Regions from separate parts of the Homo sapiens genome. Here region 2 is linked to region 1. The links are contacts of gene promoters, found by promoter capture Hi-C in blood cells and fetal thymus (Javierre and others, 2016). All regions are on one chromosome and are shown on one strand. Each heading gives the region's core, a stretch centred on a gene start or on the middle of the fragment in contact. The rest is flanking DNA. Distances are from core to core; before and after follow the strand shown. Region 1 holds the start of SREBF1 (sterol regulatory element binding transcription factor 1). Region 2 overlaps RAI1 (retinoic acid induced 1).

What was found. Contacts are between HindIII fragments. The CHiCAGO score rates a contact against its expected background, and 5 or more counts as called.
Region 2: a contact is called between a fragment that was not itself captured here and the fragment with the promoter of SREBF1 in region 1, in 1 of 17 cell types (naive CD8 T cells). The highest score is 5.1, in naive CD8 T cells.

Annotation. Positions count from the first base shown.
Region 1 is chr17:17,835,214-17,839,312 of GRCh38, forward strand. It overlaps SREBF1 (sterol regulatory element binding transcription factor 1), which reads right to left and starts at 1,773. Exons shown (of 19, transcript NM_004176.5): 1 at 1,514-1,773. The coding sequence starts at 1,604. RefSeq lists enhancers at 648-1,549, 1,550-2,452, 2,453-3,354 and silencers at 1,152-1,431, 1,622-1,781. The HindIII fragment of the contact is 13,614 bases long and covers 220-4,099 here.
Region 2 is chr17:17,740,235-17,744,333 of GRCh38, forward strand. All of the region lies in intron 2 of RAI1 (retinoic acid induced 1), which reads left to right. Among named protein-coding and RNA genes, the nearest start is that of RAI1-AS1, 24 kb to the right of the region's middle. RefSeq lists enhancers at 1-364, 2,827-3,328. The HindIII fragment of the contact is 5,638 bases long and covers 1-4,099 here.

The sequences.
Region 1 (4,099 bases), core at 523-3,022:
CTACACTCACTGGGCCCAGTGATGTGGAACTGGTAGTTGAGTCAGGCCCAGATCTCCCTAGGGCTTGGGATTTCAGGGTTCATCACTCCAGAGGGCAGTGAAGGACAACCCCTCGTGCCAGGGATAGGGGAGGCTGTTTTGGAAAAGCCTCACAATCAGGGCCTCTCCTCTGGGGTCCTCCCCTAGCCCAGCCCCAGGGGGAAGGAGGGAGGGCTGGGAAGCTTCTGGGGCTGGCAACCAGCTGGGCTCATCTGCAAGGCTGCAGTAGGGCAGGAGTGGTGGTGGCATAGATATATCTGTTTTGCCAACCCCAGGGTGGCCACGGGTTCCATGGACATGTCCATTCAGGCTGTGAGTCTAGGCATCTTGTTCCTGCGACCTTGGCCTCAGTTTCCTCATCAACCAAGTGCAACTTAGCTAGTGCTGCTAAAACTCCTGCACAGAAACCATGCAGGCAATTTGCTAGGGGCTTCCGTTTGCTCTATCTACAAAATGGAAGCAACGGGCCTCCTAATTGGCACTTGGTGCCACCATTGGCCCCAAACCCCTTCTCATCACAGCCAGGGTGATGCTCCAAAGATGGAAGCCGGTGCCACTGTTCTGCTCCGCCCTTTCCCTGGCCGACCAAGTCGGTTTGCGTCCTCCTCCTCCCTGACCTCACTCCTTTGCAAGCCTCTAACTCCTCACACTTAGGCCCTGCCTCGAGGCCTTTGCCCTTCCCTTGCCGTGGCCTGGAAAACATCTTTCCTTGCTGGTCCTGGGGGTGACCCTCAGGTCTCAGCTTAGAAGTCCCTGACCGCTCTACCCAAAGTAGCCACATCCCTGCCCTCCCCCAGCCTCGCTCCACCCAAGGTACAACTAAATACCCGTTTGGTTTCCCGGGAGATTTTTGTGTTCCCTAAAAGAGGGGGTACCCAGGTCTGTCTGTAAACCCTCGGTGCCTAAGACGGGGCCTGGCATTCGGTGGATGTCAGTGAATGAGTGCGGAGGCTGTGCCCGTCGCAGACCGGGAGAACCCGACACGAGGCGGGGGAAGGGCGCGAGGCAGCGCCCATGCGCATGCGCAAGAGCTCCGACGCCGAGCTGAACTCTCGGGCCGGAGGGAATGACCGTGAGTAACCTCGCAATTACGTCACGGCTGGGGCTGGGGCGGAGCTTCGGCGACGCCTGGGTCCCCAGCTTCAGCCGTGGCCATCACAGGGCTGGAGAGTCACCGGTCGGGCGGCACCCGGCCTGGGACGCGTAGAGGCGCACGTGTCCCGGCCCGGAGCCGCCAAGGGACCCCGGCCCGGCCCAGGAGCCCTCACCCACAAGCGCGCGGCCCGAGACGCTAGCGCGGGAACCAGGGAGGCTCGGTGAGGCTCGGGACACCGAGCTCAGAGACACCGGGAAGTCCCGCGCGAGCACAGCACGGAGCTGGCGCCCGTGGGGGAGACAAAGGCCAGGGAGACACCTGCGCGCCCCCTACTCGCGCCACCCGGCGCAGCTTCAAGCCCTGCCCGCCCTGACGCACCTTCGATGTCGGTCAGCAGCGCCGCGTCCAGATCGCACGGCTCGCCCAGCGCCTGCTCCAAAGCCGCCTCGCTGAAGGGTGGCTCGTCCATGGCGCAGCCGCCTCCTCCGGGAGGCCCGCCGGGCCCGCCGCCTCGTACGGCCCTTCCTAGGGAGCGCCGCCGCGGCCCCGGCTCTCAGTCGCCGCCGCCGCTCCGCGCGTTCGTGTCCTGCCCTGGCCTCAGAGGCGGCCCGGCGCCGGCGAAAAGTTCCTCGGAAACTGGGTTCCCCCGGCCGCAGCTCTGCTGGGCGGTCGAGGCGGAGGCGGGGCCTTTCGGGGAGGACCCGCCCTCCCAGATAGACGGCCCCGCCCCACCTTGAGAGAGCGGGGGACCCCTGATCCCCGGTCTGCGCCACAAATCTCCCCTCAGCCGGCCCCTCCTCCAGAGCGCCCTCCAGTCATTCATTTTATCCAGCCTCGCGCACAATGGCAGCGGCCTCTGGCCGGCTGCTGCGGGAACGCGGGCAAGCCGAGCCCCCTCTCTGGGCCTCTGTTTCTCCAGCACCAAGCAAGGAAGCCGAGTGGAAGCCCCAGGCCTGGGCCCATCCCAAACTTCATTTCCTCATTTCCTAGATTTGACTCTTTAGAACAAGACAGACCAGGATCCAAGTTATAGGGGTCCCAGGCCTGCTGTGTTGTGAGCAGGCCTGATGTAACTGCTGGGCCAGTTACATCACTCTGCCTCAATTTTCCTCATTTGTAACATGGGCCTAATGATGCTTTCTCACGGGCAGGCTGGGAGGCTAGTGACAATGTGGAGGGGAGCATGACCTGTGAGATCAGCCTGCCCCCTCTCTGCAAAGAAACCAGAAGATTGGCCTCTTGAGGACAGGAGTGGCCAAAGAAAGAGGCTGGAATTTCGTCATCTGGTTTCCTCCCAGATCCAGCTGTAGGGATAGGATACCAGTGGGCCCAGTGCAGCTCCTGAAGGAGGAAGCCAGTACCCAAGGAAGACTGGCCCCAGGGCTGTCTGACCCCAGATTTGGCACTTATTCCCAGGAGCAGCCAGGATAGGGGCCGCAAGGAAGAGGTAGCTGTGCTTTAGATCAGAGCCAGGCTGCCCTGGATCATCACAAGCTGGGACTAGATCAGAGCAGGCAGCCCTGTTGAGAAGAGGGCTGGAAACCGAACCTGGTTCTGTGGCCTAGGGACAGAGCCAGGTGGGGCAGGAAGGAGGGAAGGGGTCCCAATGAGGTGGGTTGAAATAAACCAGAATTAACATTCAGGAATCTGAATGTGATAAGGCAGTGAGCTCCCTGTCCCCAGAGGTATGCAAGCAGAGAGAAGCACCCTTGGTGGAGGGCAGTCCAGGAAACTCATCAGGGGCCTGGGCCTCAGGCCTTCCCGACCCCAGACCTTCATAAGTCAAGCCATCCTGCAGACTGCCTTGCTCAAACTCCAGATATAGCCTATCTGGCCACGCCCTAAGCAGGAGTAACATTCATGATGCATTTTAGAAGGGGTGTGTGGGGGAGAGAAGCCACAGAGCCCAAGTCCCTGGGGCTCAGCCTGGACATCCAGCTCCCTTTGTTCCTCTCCCAGAAGTGGCTGCGGTGGAAAATTACCCAGAATAGCGGCGCCAGAAGTCATAGGGGTCGCCAAACCACATCTCCCCAAGTAGCCCTGCTCAAGGGTCCACCCAGGACCCACTCCCTCCAGATGAACAACTGCTGGAGAACACAGAGAACAAAGCTGGCTTCTCCTCAGTGCCCCACCCCCACCAACACTCTAGAGGCTGCAGGAAGCTGGTGACTTCCCTGAAAATTTAAACAGCCCTTCCCAGGGAGGGGGTGGGATAGGAAGTGCTGGGTGAAGCCTAAATACCATTTTCTTCAGAGCTAGGCAGGTGATCTGGGTTTTCACCTGCTTGCTGTGTGACCTGGATCCAATACCTCACTTCTGAGTCTCAGCTACTGTATCTATAAAATGGGAATAACCCTTTCTGCAGTCCCTCTGCAGAGGCAGGGAGGGTGTTTTGGAGTCATCATCACAACAGATCTGCCTCACTGTTTTTTGTTTTGTTTTGTTTTGTTTTTTGTTTTGAGACAAAGTCTCTCTCTGTCACCCAGGCTGGAGTGCAGCGGCATGATCTCGGCTCACTGCGACCTCCACCTCCCAGGTTCAAGCAATTCTGTCTCAGCCTCCTGAGTAGCTGGGATTACAGGCGCACGCCACCATGCCAGGCTAATTTTTGTATTTTTAGTAGAGATGAGGTTTCACCATTTTGGCCAGGCTGGTCTTGAACTCCTGACCTTAGGTGATCCACCTACCTCGGCCCCCCCAAAGTGCTGGGATTGCAAGTGTGAGTCACTGCACCTGGCTATCACTGTTTTTGTTGTTGTTGTTGTTGTTGTTGTTGTTGTTTTTAAGACAGAGTCTCGCTCTGTTGCCCAGGCTGGAGTGCAGTGGCACAATCTTGGCTCACTGCAACGTCGGCCTCCCGGGTTCAAGCATTTCTTTTCCCTCAGCCTCCCGAGTAGATGGGATTACAGTCATGCACTACCACGCCCGGCTAATTTTTGTATTTTTAGTAGAGATGGGGTTTTG
Region 2 (4,099 bases), core at 925-3,424, 95 kb before region 1:
CCCCAAGCTGTGCTGGTGGTCCAGGCCCCCTTTGGGGAGGACCCTGGCCAGGGGTCCCTAGCTCCTCCTCTGTCATCCAGAGAACCCTTAGGTCCCAGGGGCTGGTGGTGTTCCTCTTCCTCAGAAACACTACCTGCAAGACTGGAACCCTAACACAGCCACCTCTGGAGAGTTGGGGGTCACCCATCTCTTCTTTGCTCCCCACCCACCCTGGTGGAAGTGGTTCATCTGCTCTGAGCCCTAAAGAGGACCAGGTGGGAAAGAGGCCTGATGCCGTGCTGGGGGCTTCGAATAGGTACAGGCACTTCTCTAAGGTTGCTGTGTAGGGCAAGAAAATCAGCTCAGAGAGTGAATGAATTTGCCCCAGGCCACGTGGCCATCAGGTGGCCTGGCTGGGGTTTGAACCTGTCTTCTCAGAGCAAAGCTGACTTGGCTGCACCTCCCTGGACTTCAGCTTTCAGGGAGGGAGGTCCAGGCAGCAGGAGCCTGGGGGACAATGCTATTTTTCATATTGATTTTTGTATTGACCTGCATCCTGTTGCCCACCCCGGCAAGCCCCAGGACAGATCCCGTTTTGGTTTTCGCCAGAACAAAGCAGGCTGTGCTAGACCTGCCAAAGCAGATACTTCCTCAGAGCAGGTGAAAGGAAACTCAATCTTGTCTTTTGTTACTCAAGGAGGGAGTGAGGGAATGGCTTTGCCCTTGAACAGGGAGGCCGTGGGCGGGTGGGAGGGGTGGGTGAGGCAGTGTGGGGAGAGGGCAGGGGCACACATACCTGAGCCGAGACACCACCCCCGCCCGCCGTCAGAGCATCCGGAGTGTGGTGACCATGTTAGTATTCAGCACAAGCGCGCGCGCACACACACACACACACACACTCGCGCACGCACACACGCACGCTCACACTCACACACTTAAGCGCACACGTACACGCACGCCTTTCTTTCCGTCTCTCCCCACCACCCTCCTGAGTCCCCTCTAAACCAGGAAGGTAGCATCTGACCAGCAGAGAAAAAAAGAGAGAGAAAGGAAAAGAGAAAAAGAGAGATTAGTGGGAAGAAAATCCGATTCTGGAGTTACCTTAGTTACCAGCTCCTAATGACTCGCAGGGCGGGCTCGGCCACCTTCCTGAGCAGGGGGACCCTCCCTCCCGGGCCCCTCCATCACCCCATTAATAAGACGGGGCCCTTGTTCATGAGTTCTGCCACAGAAAGGGAAGAATCAAGGACTTTTCAATAAGAGAGAACTCCCTGGGTGGTTTTGAATAGTTGCTTTTTGTGTGGCAGTGCGGGACTCGTCCTCGGCTCTCTGCCCTGGCCGCCTCCCTCAGCTGGCTCTGTCTGGAACTGCCTGCTCCTGGGTCTCCAGATGGATGAGCTTGTTTCTCCGGGAGCTCAATCCTTTATTGTTCCTGCCTTTCCCCTCCTGACACCCTCAGCTTAGCAGAGGCCACAGGCAGCCTTTGCGTCTCAGGAAAGCAAGAGAATCCCCGAGGTGGTTCTAAAAAGGCTTAAAGCCCGGGAGTGGGGCTCAGCATGAAGGAAACAAAAGCACACTCCCCACATCCAGGGTGCTGGGCCTGTCGGCCAGGGCCAAGCTCACGGCCGTTGCTTCGGTGCCAGTGGAAGGGGAATGAATGGAGGAGAGACTGGGTGAGGGAGATGACGATAGAACAGGAGGGAGATGGGTAAATCCGTTTTATCAGACGCTGCATATCTTAGGAAAGCACATTTCAGCTCTTTTGGCTTTTGGCAAGCTGGTCCTACCCTTTAATTTTCTAATAAAAAGGAATTACGTTTGCTGAAAAGGCAGTAACCAGCTTCATGTCAGTGTCTCTTGTGGAGACCATAATTCCCGTCTTGGGTGCCTGCCGGCTCTGGGGTGGGAGGTGGGCTTCTGTGGCCACGGGTGATGATATTCAGGAGTCAAGGGGCAGGGACGTCAGGGCCCACAGCAGATGCCAGGCAGTGCCACATGGCTTTGCCCTGCTTGCCCCACCCTGGCCTGTCCACTCCCAGCCCAGCCTCTGATCATGGTTCCAGGCTCACCACAGACAGGGCTGGCAGAGGCTCCCAAGACTCACAATAGACACTTAATGAATATTTGTGGAATGAATGAAGGAATTCTTACTGCCGAGGCCTGAGGTAGCAGGCAAGTTGCTCAGAGGGTCAGATCTTGGTTTGAATGAATGAATGAATGAATGAATGAACGAGTGAATGAATGAATGAATAAAGGAATGAATGTTCTCCAGAGTCTGAAACTATCTATCTGGAAGGACTAACCTCCAACCAACCCCACTCTCCCTAAGCTCTGGCACTGAATTCACTGGAAACTTTGCCAAAAATAATATCCCCTCTGCTTTTAACAAATAATATGCACTCGTTTTAAAAGAGAGAGAGAGAGAGAAGTGTGTGAAGTCGCAAGTTCATGTCCATGCTGTCCCACACCTGAGTCCCCCAGAGCCAAGGGTGGGCACCCTTAGAAGGTCCTTTAGACCTTCCTCCAGGCTCTGGGAATCCCCTGCATTTCTTATCTGGTTTGGGGGTCCTTGCACACGCACTGTTCTACAACCCTATGGGGCCCCTCGGCCATCCCTGTCCCCAGTGAGATCTGGATGTGGTTCAGACCTCCCTGGGCTGCAGAGTGTCCCTTCCTGCTCTCCAACCTGGGAACAGGAGCCAGGTATTTATGTAAGTCTCTGTGGGGTGAATGTAGGAAAACATTTTTGCTATTACAACTCCCTTCATTCCAGTCCCTGATTTATTGATTTTTGAGACAGGGTCTCCCTCTGCAGCCCAGGCTGGAGTGCAGTGACATGATCACAGCTCACCATAGCCTCAACCTCCCAGGCTCAAACCATCCTTCCACCTTAGCCTCCCGAGTAGTTGGGACTTACAGTCACATGCCAACATACCCGGCTAATTTTTAATTTTTTGGTAGAGGTGGGATCTCACTATGTTGCCCAGGCTGGTCTCCAACTCCTGGGTTCATGTGATCCTCTTGCCTTGGCCTCCCAGAGTGCCTCCCAATGGGCTCACACCCCAGCCCCAGTTTTAAACAAGATCCTGAAGGCAGAACACTCACCATGGGTAGGCACTTGATAAATGGTAGCCTTTGTGATTTGGGAGGAATCTGTACCCAGTGCTATGCTTGGTTCCACATCCTAAGCATTGCTTGTGCCATACTATATGCCAGGCCCCCAGGGCGCAGGAACACACGGTTCCAGAGGGGTGTGGAGGCCCCTGAGTGGCAGCGTCCAGGAGCCCAGTCGCTGCCCCTGCCCGCAGCAGCCCATCACTGCTGGTATCCAGCCTCCTTCAGACTGGTGTATGCCACTGGAAACTCCAGGACATGTGCGCAGCAGACCCCACACACGTGGTTTCTCTGGGGCTGCCTCCTGACCCCAATGGGCAGGCACCAGGTCTCTGAAGCTCAGCTGGCAAATGTAGGAGCAGCCCAGGATTTGGCTGGTTGGGCACATGCACGGCTCCCGTCCTAGGACCTGACTTAATCTCAATCCTTAGAGGTGGCCTGGGAATCTGAATTGTTACTAGCCTCTTGGCTGCCATGGATCCCTTCCAGGATCAGGAACTGGCATGAGGCATAGGAGGGCCAAGGACATCTTTTAGGCTGCATGGAGCCCGGATCCACTCTGCAGCCCCTGGCTGGGCCGTAGGAGAGCGGGCAGGCTCAGGGCAGGGAGGGGAGCTAAAAGGGAATGGAGGGGAGACCAGCAGGAGCTCTGTCTGCCCGATTCTGGTTTGGGCTGTGAGACAGTCATTGCATTTTTTTGCACAGTTCTGGCCACACAGTATTTAAGAGGCTTTGCCTACAGACCTGAGTGACTGTGTGAATGGTGGCACTGGTGCATACGGGGACGCCTGAGGAGGAACAGATTTGGGACTTGTCCACCTAGGACTCCCTGTGGGATTGCCAGTATCACCCCTCTTCGTCATTAATTCCCAGCTTGCCTGGGGGAGGCCAGGGGGTAGCATGGGGTTCGGGTTCCCCTAGGGTTCAAACACCAGCCCATCTGCCCTGGGTGGCCCTTCCCTGCTAAGAGCCTCAGTCTGCTGTTCTGTAAAGTGGGTCCAGCCAT